Linked DNA regions of Homo sapiens: regions 1 and 3 are each linked to region 2. The links are contacts of gene promoters, found by promoter capture Hi-C in blood cells and fetal thymus (Javierre and others, 2016). All regions are on one chromosome and are shown on one strand. Each heading gives the region's core, a stretch centred on a gene start or on the middle of the fragment in contact. The rest is flanking DNA. Distances are from core to core; before and after follow the strand shown.

The links. Contacts are between HindIII fragments. The CHiCAGO score rates a contact against its expected background, and 5 or more counts as called.
Region 1: a contact is called between a fragment that was not itself captured here and the fragment with the promoter of CD200R1 in region 2, in 8 of 17 cell types (M1 macrophages, M0 macrophages, M2 macrophages and 5 more). The highest score is 10.9, in M1 macrophages.
Region 3: a contact is called between a fragment that was not itself captured here and the fragment with the promoter of CD200R1 in region 2, in 6 of 17 cell types (M1 macrophages, M2 macrophages, M0 macrophages and 3 more). The highest score is 10.9, in M1 macrophages.

What each region holds. Positions count from the first base shown.
Region 1 is chr3:112,794,595-112,798,429 of GRCh38, reverse strand. No RefSeq gene overlaps it. Among named protein-coding and RNA genes, the nearest start is that of CD200R1L-AS1, 6.0 kb to the left of the region's middle. The HindIII fragment of the contact is 391 bases long and covers 2,256-2,646 here.
Region 2 is chr3:112,973,162-112,977,122 of GRCh38, reverse strand. CD200R1 (CD200 receptor 1) reads left to right here and starts at 2,020. Exons shown (of 8, transcript NM_138806.4): 1 at 2,020-2,332. The coding sequence starts at 2,266. The HindIII fragment of the contact is 1,253 bases long and covers 809-2,061 here.
Region 3 is chr3:112,828,914-112,832,938 of GRCh38, reverse strand. CD200R1L (CD200 receptor 1 like) reads left to right here. Exons shown (of 8, transcript NM_001199215.3): 4 at 3,555-3,620. The coding sequence starts at 3,572. Among named protein-coding and RNA genes, the nearest start is that of CD200R1L, 16 kb to the left of the region's middle. The HindIII fragment of the contact is 5,298 bases long and covers 1-4,025 here.

The DNA.
Region 1 (3,835 bases), core at 1,202-3,701, 180 kb after region 2:
ATTTTTTCCCATAGAGTTGTTTTTAAAAAAAGATGTAAACAGTAAAAGAGAAATACCTCATCAACTTCTCAGCTTAAGAAACAAAACTTGACAAACCCAATTAAAGCCCTCTATGTGCCCCTCCCTGATTTCATCTCCTTTCTCCCTTCTACAGATAACCATGGTCCTGAACTCAAGGTGTGTCATTGTCTTGAAATTCTCTATAGCTTCCACATATATTTGTATCCTTATAAAATATATTTTTAAATTTTGCATATTTTAAATTTTATATAAATGGTTTCATATGTGTTCATTCTCCTGAAATTTATAGGTTTTGCTTCTTCTCATCATGTCCGAAGTATTTATCCATGTTACTGTGTGTAGCTGTTCTTCTTTCATTTTCATTGCTAAATAATATTCCATTGTTTGAATATATCACCATTCGTTTAGATATTCTACCATTGATGGATATTCTCCACAATTTTTCTATGATACATAATGCTGCTAATCCTACATGTCTTATTATGTATATATCAAGAGTTTGTCTTGTAAATATAGCTATATTTACTAAAATTGAGTTTTCTTTCTGAACAATTTTATTTCAAGGATTATCTCTGTAAAAAACTCTTGAGGCTGGGCACAGTGGCTCATGCCTGTAATCCCAGCACTTTGGAAGGCTGAGGCAGGTGGATCACCTGAGGTCAGGAGTTTGAGCCCAGCCTGACCTGATTAACATGGTGAAACCCTGTCTCTACTACAAATACAAAATTAGCCAGGTGTGGTGGTGCATGCCTGTAATCCCAGCTACTTGGGAGGCTGAGGCAGGAGAATCGCTTGAACCTGGGAGGCGGAGGTTGCAGTGAGTGAAGATGGAGCCATTGCACTCCAGCTTGGGCAACAAGAATGAAACTCCTTCTCAAAAACAAAAACAAAAACAAAACAAAACAAAACAACAACAAAAAAACTCTTAACATGTACATAGTGAGATGTAAAATGTCGTAACTCCCAGTTCTCCTAATTGGCTGTGTCAATTTACACTTTAATTTTATTTTGTAGAGACAGAACCTTGCTGTGTCACCCAGTCTGGTCTCACACTCCTGGCCTCAAGCAATCTTCCTTCTTTGGTCTCCCAAAGCACTGGGATTACAGGCATGAGCCATAGTCCCTGGCCTACACTTTAATGGTTTTATTTTTTAATATCATCTCCAATTTGGTTTTGTTAGACTTTTTATCTTTTGCTACTCTGAAGGACCGAAAGAGTATCTCATGATTTTAAAATACATATCTTTGATTATTAGTCAGGTTGAGTGGCTTTTCATTTGTTCATAAGCCATTTTTTTCTTGTGCTATCATTTGTCATTGTTCATATTTATGTTTCCTATTGATTTGTGGGTGTTCTTTATATATTCAGGCTATAATTTTTTTGTCTATGTATGCATTGCAAGTAACTTCCCCTATCTGTAATTGTTTTTGTATCTTGACTTTAGCATTAGCAATGCCAAGTAGACAAAACAAATCACTATTTTACAATTTTTGGTGCTATCGTTTTTACTTTTCAAGAACATTACAATGGGATTTGTATGAAGACTATTGTGATTTAAAATTATCAATGTCACTGGTACTTGTAGTGAAACTTCCATAGAGTTCTCCATTTCAGATAAATTTGAACTTCCATGTAATTTTCTTTTAGGACAAAATAATCATGTAATCAGCTCAAGCGAAGTTTTTACATGTGAATAATTTGGACATAATTTTATGTGACTTTTTTTCTCTTGTTTCAGAAGATGAGAAGAATTGTGTTTTTAGCAAAGCATTTAGATATCAGTATGTTTTAAAACAAATGTAACCAGCTAAAAACTGGAATGTGCTTGTTGGGGTGAGTTCCCTTCAAAGCAAAGATCAAAATTAAAGTTGTCCTCTAATTTACAAGGACAGTTCTTCACAACTTGGTTCTTGGTCATCTCGTGCTAACTACCATCTATCCTGTGTGGATAATTTAGCCTTTCCCTAGTGTAAAATTGAGAAGCAATATAGCATAGTGGCTAAGGCTTTGTGGTCAGAAAGCTCCATCATTTTCCACAGGTTCTTTTTGATCAAATTACTTAAAATATTTAAACCCCAGTTTCTGAATCTGAAAATATGACAAATGCTGCCTTTGTCATGAGCCTTTCTTGGTGGTTAAATTAGATGACATCTGTATTGTACCTGCACATTCAATTAACAGTAGTTACTATTACATGGTTGTAATGAAACCCTCATCCAATTGAAAATAAGCTTTCAAAATGCTATAGCTTCTCAGAAGAAGCACGCTTCATTTTATTCTCTTTAGAGGCACTTGTTGAGGACTAAGGATTTCTCTAAAGAAGGTACAGTTCTGAGAAAGGGAATGAAAGTTAACTTTTTCTTTCTTGATCTTCAAATGCAACCATTGGTTTTGTTGGGCAACTCAGCTACACAAGAACATAGTGTGTTAGGTTGGGCCTCAAAGGCCAACAGAACCTGAAAATATGACCCATTCATATTCGGATGATAGAGACCTAGCCCATGTTGCCCCTGGCAGAACATTTTGTTTGGCCACAATGTTTTTCAAAGCTACAGAACACTCTAGTTGTTCTGTTGTATACAATGTACTTATTCTTTGGCTTTATCCTGCTCTATATTGAAGCTTATTTGTGTATCCCATGGACACCTCTAATACACACACACAGAAACACACCCTTTGCACACACTAATGCTTAAATCGAACTAATGACCTATACACAGAAAGCAACTCTTGGTAACATAATTAAGAGAGACTGGTTTAGACTTCCTTTGCCAATTGTGATCTACCGGTTTCTCCCAGAGACACATAATTTGCTTAGAATTTCATAAATACATGTCTGGTTTTTCTAACAGGGATTCAGACTCTCTTAATGTTAGAAAGTTTCAGTCTTAAGCCACCTATGTTAAACTAACAAATAAACCTAAACATGCTTTGGTGAAATATACATCTGAAAAGGCTACAAATGGGTAAAGAGAATCAGAAATCTTAGCTTGGAATCCTCGGGATTCTATATCATTTACTAGCTGTGGGACCTGAAATGAGTCACTTAATCCCTCTGAGCCTCAGTTTACCTCATTTATAAAGTGAGGATGCTAAAAGAAGTATAAAAACAGAGAGTAAAGACTTGGGCTGCTGGTTATTTGATCAAAGTGAATGCAGGAAAATGCCCTATGAAAACTATATAGTTTGCACTTTTCCAGAATATATCTCTTAGTTTGCACATGAAAATCTATATCCTTTTAAAAGACTTCTAACTTGTTATCTTTACAAGGATAACAAGGGATTTCTGCAGAACCCTGCTGATATCACAAGTCTCACAGGCACCGAGGCAGTAGATAAAGGTATCTGGTTCTGAAGGTCATCTCTCAGGTCACCTAGGCCCAGTAAAGAGGGAAACAGAAGCGGCTCCTTGACCTCATTTTCCCTACTCTGGGCCCGTCTGTAAACAAGTGGCTTGAGGGAAGTATGAGGTCTGCTTGTTGCCAGGGGTTCTGTTGCTTCCTCTTAACAGAAAAAGCTCTTTCTGCTATTTTCAAAGGCAGCAGCTTCTGGCAGGAGCCAGGTAGGACAGGGCTGCCTTTGGCTCACTAACATCAGAATCGTTGCTGACAGGCGCCTGAAGGGTAGGGTCTAGGGCAGGAAAATGTCTTCTCAATGTTTACCTCTCAGAGGTCATTTAAGCCCATGTCCTGGGAGGCAGGTCTCATCTCTTATGGGGTGGAGACTGGAGTGGGCAGGGAAACTGAACTCAAGAGGGAAGGTCGGTTAATCCTGCCTTAGAAAGAAGCAAGGACATTGTGATCAGAGATTCCA
Region 2 (3,961 bases), core at 771-3,270:
GTTGTTGCCTGAAATTTCAAAGTAGAGGAGTTGAGTGAAAAGAACACAGGGCTACGAAATATAACACATTTTATTCCCAGCCGTGCCAATAAGTTGTTTTGAGGCCACAGGCCATTTAGCCCTTCTGTGGTTTAGTTTTGGCTATGTCATTGAGCAGATATTAAAATAAATGATCTCCAAGAATTTTTGATGACATGAGAAAAAGCTAATGTCAATATAATATAAACAGATACAGACTTGAGTAAGAAACTTTCCCAGTATCACTGGACTAGTAATTGCACAACAGAGACTTAACCCTATGTCTATCTGTATCCTAAGCGAGTGTGAATTTTAACTTTAACTTCTCTCTGCTCACTGCAACCTCTGCCTCCTGGGTTCAAGCGATTCTCATGCCTCAGCCTCCCAAGTAGCTGGGACTACAGATGAGTGCCATCACACCTGGCTAATTTTTTTTTTTTTTTTTAAGTAGAGATGGAGTTTGGAGTTTTGTCATGTTGCCCAGGCTGGTCTCGAACTCCTGAGCTCAGGCAATCTGCCCGCCTCGGCCTCCCAGTGTCCTAAGATTACAGACATGAGCCACTACTCCCGGCCAACTTTCACTTCTATGTAGTGGAAAACCAGAATATTATCTGTATTTTAAATGATGTATTCTCACTAATTTTCCGACACCTGGTGAAACATTAGACAGAAGAGAAGACATTTTTGTTTTGGTCTTCCCATTGTCACAGCTCATACCCTTAAGTGTTCCATGCCCTCAAGGATCTGGTTTCACTGTCTTCATCAAATTAATTAACTGGAAAAAAAAGCTTGAGAAGGGGAAGGGGGGAAATATTTATAATGTTTGGCAAGAAGGAAGATGAAACTGCTAACTGAGAAAAAAAATGCATGCTGTTTAATCTTTTTCCTGTTTGCAATGTTTTCTTCCCCTTCCTGTACAGTTTTGCCTTGGGGCAGAAAATTCTCAGCACATAGAAGATTTTTCCCTCTCTCAGACATAACTTAAAAGCATAGTAACATAGTAACTAGCAACAGTAAGGAAGAGGTTTTTTTGTTGTTGTTGTTGTTTTTTTTTTTTGGTTAGGGGGAGTCTGAATTCCAGATGTGTGGCAACTAAGAGATGGGTGATTATTTGTAATTTGGTTAAAATGATCAGTCTAATTTTCCAAAGGTGAAACTGAATGGCAATAAGTACTGAGTTCTGATAAACAGAATGCCCTCACCCCCAACAAGGTAGATACCTATGTCCGAATTACCGAAACCTGTGAATGTTACCTTGTGTGGCAAAAAGGACTTTGCAGATGTGATTAAATTAAGATCTTGAAATTAGATCATGTTGGATTATTTGGGTGGACCAAAAATAATCACAAGGTCTTTATAAAAGGGAGGCATAAGGGTCACAGTCAGAGAAGATGTGACAGTGGACCAGAGGTCCGAATGATGTAGCTGCAAGCCAAGAAATGCAGGCATTCTCAAATCGCTGGAAAAGGCAGGGAGCAAATTCTGCCCGAGCCTCCAGATGGAGTGCAGCCCTTCCAACACCTTGATTTTAGTCCCCTAAGATCCATTTCAGACTTCTGATCACCAGAACTGTAAGATAATAAATGTTGTGTTGTGTTAAGCCACTGAGTTTGTGGTAATTTCTTACAGTAGCAATAGGAAACTAATACACATATGATGTTTACAGGGTTGTGTGTTGACTCCCATTATAGACAGGAATTTCACACAATAATTTTCAAGAAAACATATTGTATTCCAGACTCAAATACTAAGGCCGTAAAGCTCTTCAACCTGGAGAAAGCCTCTAAAAGTCATCATAATTGGGAAATTTACAAGGATGGGCCAAAGTAGATCAATATTCTGTTTTACTTTTTGGTGCAAGTTTAGACAAATCTGTTTATCTTGGACACGTTCAATGCCTTACTGTAAAGTTTGTCTGTGTACAGCAGAAGTGAGAGGAGAACCAATGAGCTGAGAGATAATTCAATCAATCTGCTTCCTCCGTCTTTGCTTCAGGGCTTCATACAGGAAATCTATTGCTGTGTCAAGTTCCAGAGAAAAGCTTCTGTTCGTCCAAGTTACTAACCAGGCTAAACCACATAGACGTGAAGGAAGGGGCTAGAAGGAAGGGAGTGCCCCACTGTTGATGGGGTAAGAGGATCCTGTACTGAGAAGTTGACCAGAGAGGGTCTCACCATGCGCACAGTTCCTTCTGTACCTGTGTGGAGGAAAAGTACTGAGTGAAGGGCAGAAAAAGAGAAAACAGAAATGCTCTGCCCTTGGAGAACTGCTAACCTAGGGCTACTGTTGATTTTGACTATCTTCTTAGTGGCCGGTAAGTTTGAATTCTCTTTGGGAGAACAGTGAGAAACCTGGTCTCAGCTCTTCCTGAGTTTATTTTTTGTCTTTCTTCTGGGGCAATACAAATCAATTGCAATAATAAATATAGGGGGTTGCTAAATATGGGTTACTCCCATATCTAGTTTACTTTATTATCCTTTTTTCCGGTGTCTTGCTTGTTGTACTTTGTATCCTACTACAATATACAGATCTCTATAATTTGTCTTACTGTCCATTTCCTTATTTCCTCCTGTTTTTTGAACAAGGCAGGATAAATCAAATACATACTAGCAGCAATCAAAGTCAGTTAGGTTCTCTTTATCTTATTCTCTTCCCCAACCCCCTTTTTTGAGACAGGGTCTTGCTCTGTTGCCCAGGCTGGAGTGCAGTGGTGCAATCGTAGCTCACTGCAGCCTGTAACTCCAGGTCTCAAGCAGTCCTCCCACTCAGCCTCCTGAGTGTCTAGGACTACAGATATGCGCCACTATGCTTGGCTAATTTTTAAAATTTTTGGTAGAGATAGAGTCTTGCTATATTGTCCATGCTGGTCTTGAGCTCCTGTCTTCAAGCAATTCTCCCACCTCAGACTCCCAAAGCATTGGGATTACAGGCATGAGCCACTGCACCCAGCCTCTTCTCTCTTAATTTTTTTTTTTAAGATAAGAACGCTAACTCATTTAGGTCCACATTGCCAGTGGCATAGATTAGGACAGTTTATTGCTTTCTGTCACTTTCGATGATTAGGCACTTCAAAAATATAATATGCCTACAGTTACAGTGGTGCGTCTGTGATGTATGTCTGTATTTATCTTCAAGATGTGTGGGCTGTAAGAGACACTACGAGTTAGAGAACAGACTCTTCAACATCTAGGTTCCTATAGAAGTTATAGAGAACTTGGGCCACTGTGGGGGTGTCCTGGTTTCACTGTAGAAGGTTGGTAGGAGTTGGTGTGGGAGGGAGTTTTCAGGTTTCACTTTTGGTAGACAGAGCAGCTGCAAGGGAAGAGTGTAGTTGGTTTTAAATGTTATAATTTGATAATTGAAAGAAGAAAAGGTATTTTTCCTCATTTCTGAATGACTTTAAAATGCTGCTTATCTTCCACAAAAAATCTTCTTTCCACATGTTAATCTTACTAGTGAACACATGCAAAATAACTACACTCTTTGACTGCACCTTTCTATTGAGAATTTTCACATGCTTTTTTCCCTTTGATCTGCACAGCAACCCAGTGAAGTAGACATGGAAGACACCTCTCCATTTTACAAAGGTAGAAATGGAGGCGTAGAGAGGTGAAATGATTTGGCCAAGGTTAGATATGACTAGTATGTGCCAGAATCACAATCAGTAATGATATACATCAGTAAGCACCACTAAACATTTGAGTGGGCAATTTTCCTCATTATTTAACCATTGTGCTTTTCACTGAAGAGCATCAGTGAAAAAAGTCAAGCCAATACTTAGTTTTAGCCTTAATAGACTGTTACTCACCTAAAAAGTCAAGTGATCTGAATCTTTCAGTAGTTCAGATCTTGTTGTAGAAAGCTCTTATAGCAACTTGTGTAGGACCCAGCTTGGCTGGGGCAGCCAGATAGGCAAGGAGCTGTTTATGTCAAATTGCACTGT
Region 3 (4,025 bases), core at 567-3,066, 140 kb after region 2:
ATATGATGTCATCAATATAGTAGACCAATATGATGGTCTTTGCAAAATGCCCAGATAGCCTAGATCTTTTTAGATTACATTGTACATGAAAGTAGAAATTAAGGCAAGACCATATTTATATACTCTCTACTGTCCTGTGGAATACAAACTTATTTTTGATGTTCCTTCCTGATGAATGTTGAAAATAATGCATTTACCAGATCAATAACCACATACTGCAACTGGAGTATCTCTAGTAAAGATAGCTTATCTGGCAGAGTAGCTGCCGTTGGGGCTGATACTTTGGTAATTTTGCATTGATCTACTATAATTCACCATCCAGTGTTTTGCAGGGATCTAACTGGTAAATTAAGTAAGAGACATGATGGGGACCACTATTTTAGTATACTTTAAGTCTCTGAGAGGAGACTCATACTTAGGTCTTCAGTATTAATATTTATTTACTATCTTCGCCAAGGGGGGTGGTTTGGGGGATTTATCTTGGTCTTTCCTATTATAATAGCACTTACTTTACAGATCAAGGAATCAACAAGATGGTCTGCAAGCTGCTAAGCATGTTCATTCTAATTAAATATTCAGCAACTGAAAAATCACCACTGTATAAGTCTGTGGACTTTGAAGGTCCACTGTGATATGAACCAGGCCCAGGATTTCTTTTATCATCTGACTCCGATATGTTTCTACTCTAACAGGAGGCCCTTAATGTTCTTTGTGTTCTTGGGTATCAGGATCAATTCAGATTAGTATTCAAATAACCTTCAAAAGATCCTTGTATTCCTTTTTCCCCAGTTATGGTTACCTAAACACATGGTCATAGGTTCTTTGGTGAAGGACTAGGGGAATAACTATTGCAACAGTTCTCAAAGTGTGGTTTTCAGATGGCTGGGATAACCAAGACCCTTTCAGTGGGTCACCTCGGTAAAAATGAGTTACAATAATAATAATAATGATAATACAGTGATGTTATTTGCCTTTCTACTGATATTTTCACTGATAGTGCAATTGAACTGTTGTTTAAAATTACTGGTGCCTTAGCATGAATGAAGTGCAGAGCACTGTATTAGTTTGCTAGGGCTGTTGTAACAAAGAACCATGGAGTGAGAAGTGGAGGCAATGGAAATCTATTGTGTTACAGTTCTAGAAACTAAAACTCCGAGATCAAGGTGTTGGCAGGGCAATTCTCCCTCTGAAGGCACTACGAAAGGATCTGTTTCAAGCCCTTCTCCCAGCTTCTGGTATTTCCTGGCTTGTGCAGCATACCTCCAATTTTTACATGGTGCTTTCCCTGTGTCCATATCTGTGTCCAATTTGCTCTTTTTATGAAAACACCAATTGTATTGCGTTAGGGGCTCATGCCGCTCAAGTATGACTTTACCTTAGCTAGTTATACTTGTAATGATTTTATTTTCAAATAAGATCACATCTCTGAGGGTTAGGACTTCAACATGTAAATTTTCAGATATACAATTCAACCTATAAGAGGCACCAAGCTGTACCAATAGTCATTGTATTCTTCACTCACTCATGCACACACGTACACATTGCCTAAGAATGTCTTTGATGATTCAGTAAAAATAATTAATGTATTAAATCTGAAGCCTTATATACAGTATCTTTTAAGTATTCTACATGATGGAATTGGAAATACATTTAACACATTTTTGTTGCATACCAAATCATGGTGATTATCCTGAGGAAATGCATTTATATCAAATGTTTGAGTTGCAAGCTGAAGACAATTAGTTAACCATAACTAAAATTATACAAAAATCATTGTAAAACAGAAATTAAACGTTATGCCATCATTAGAGGAAAAAACATGTTAACATCTTAAAAATTATACTTATAAGCAACTAATAGTGATTTCTCATTCATGAGATGCTTTGTTTAGTCAACTAGTTTGTATGAGGTAACCATGCCTCCCCCCTATTCCTCCTTCCCCAACCAAGGAGATGGGTCCGTGTGGATATCTCACATGAGCTGGTCCAATTATACTCCTTTCTCCAAATGCTGGAGACAGCAACTTTAAATGAAATTTCTCTGCACTTTTTTTTTTTTCCTTTTTAACCTAACTCCTCTAAAAGAGTGAAAGAAATGAACACAAAAATATCTCTCCTCTCTCCTCTCCAACCACTTTTTTACATCCAGGGTGGGTAAAATACTTATTAAGAAAAAGAAGGGTTTTATGGGACTTTAAATGAGACCCAATAGAAGAAATTGGCATGTAGAAATTTTTATCATTTTCGTTTTCTTGTTGTGTCCAGTTAGCACTTCACTGTCTTTACTAATGGATACAAAGGCTATGCTCTGTTGCCATCCCATCCTATTGACAAGTGTGATGGTAACAGCATGGGAAATACTCATCAGAAACAATTCTTCCTGCATCAAAGCCTACAGGAAAGAGAGAAATGAGACAATGCAAAAAAAAAAAAAAAAAAAACTGCAATGACAAGAGTATAACGTAGGCCTCCAGTCCTGACTGGAATCTTTCCCTTTGGGTTGATCCCATTGTCCTCACTCATTATGGGTATTACAGGTGAATAATGGTAACACCTGATGGGAATTTCCATCATGGATATCACCCATGATGATGTCCACTGAAAGGGTCTTGGCTATCCCTAGCCATCTGAAAACCACGCTTTGAGAATTACTGCAACATTCATTCCCCTAGGCCATCACTGAAGTACCTAATCCTAACCATACCAAGTGTTAGGAAAGGAACATCATATATTGTAGCATTGCACATCATCAGATTTGGACTGAAACAAATGTCTCTCTAAATTTCATATTCTTTATGTTAAGATTGAAGCACTTTTTCCTTACCTTTCTGCAGTTCCCCCGAAGTGACCCTGTTTCTAAGCAGGCATAGAGCTGTGGTGTGTAAGACAGTTGCAGCAAAGCCAGCTGCACAGATCTCCTGGACCCCGCAGGGGGATTGTGTCACCAACCAAGAATATTGGGGCAATGGCACAGTGACTGTTGGGAGTTCATGTCACTGGGAGGGCCACAATGTGTCTACCATGACCTTATGATAGGCACATTTGAGTAGCAACAAGAGTGTCTATAGAGCTACTTCCTGGTTAGTAATTATTCCAGTTTTGTGTTCATTTCTTTCACTCTTTTAGAGGAGCTAGGTTAAAAAGGAAAAAAAATGTGCAGAGAAATTTCATTTAAAGATGCTGTCTCCAGCATTTGGAGAAAGGAGTATAATTGGACCAGCTCATGTGAGATGCCCACATGGACCCATCTCCTTGGTTGGGGAAGGAGGAATAGGGGGAGGCATGGTTACCTCATACAAACTAGTTGACTAAACAAAGCATCTCATGAATGAGAAATCATTATCAATTGCTTATAAGTATAATTTTCAAGATGTTAACATGTTTTTTCCTCTAATGATGGCATAACTTCTAATTTCTGTTTTACAATGATTTTTGTATAATTTTAGTTATGGTTAACTAATTGTCTTCATGTTGAGTAAGACTGTGGGGAAACACTTGTTTCCATTCTGAGTACATAAAATTGATTTCGCTTATTCTTCTCTAAATGTTTTCTAGCTTCAAGTAGTTCATGCATGGGTGGAAAGCAGATGACACAGAACTATTCAACAATTTTTGCAGAAGGTAATATGCTCCCTTAGTAGTGGCCAGCACTGAGGGATGGAAAGTTGAACTTCAGTAGAATCATTAGCTGATGGCCTGGCTGGAGGCCAGCCTTGTGACTACTTGAAGAACATGTTGATCTGAGTGCTGTGGTACGAAGGACCCTGAATGTCCCAGTCTCTAGTTCTCCAAACAAGCCATACTCTTGCTTACCTCTGAACCTTTGCTAAGGTGGAGTGCTGGAAGGAGCGTGGATTTAATGACCTTTCAGGTCTGCGTTAAAGTCCTGCTTCTTTCTGCATCTGGTTATGTGATCATTATTTGACTGTCAAATATAAGGGTTAAAGTACCACATAAGAGACAGGTGACACCAAAACAGGAGAGGAGAGATATTAATTGCAGGGTGTAGCAAAAACAAACTTCATC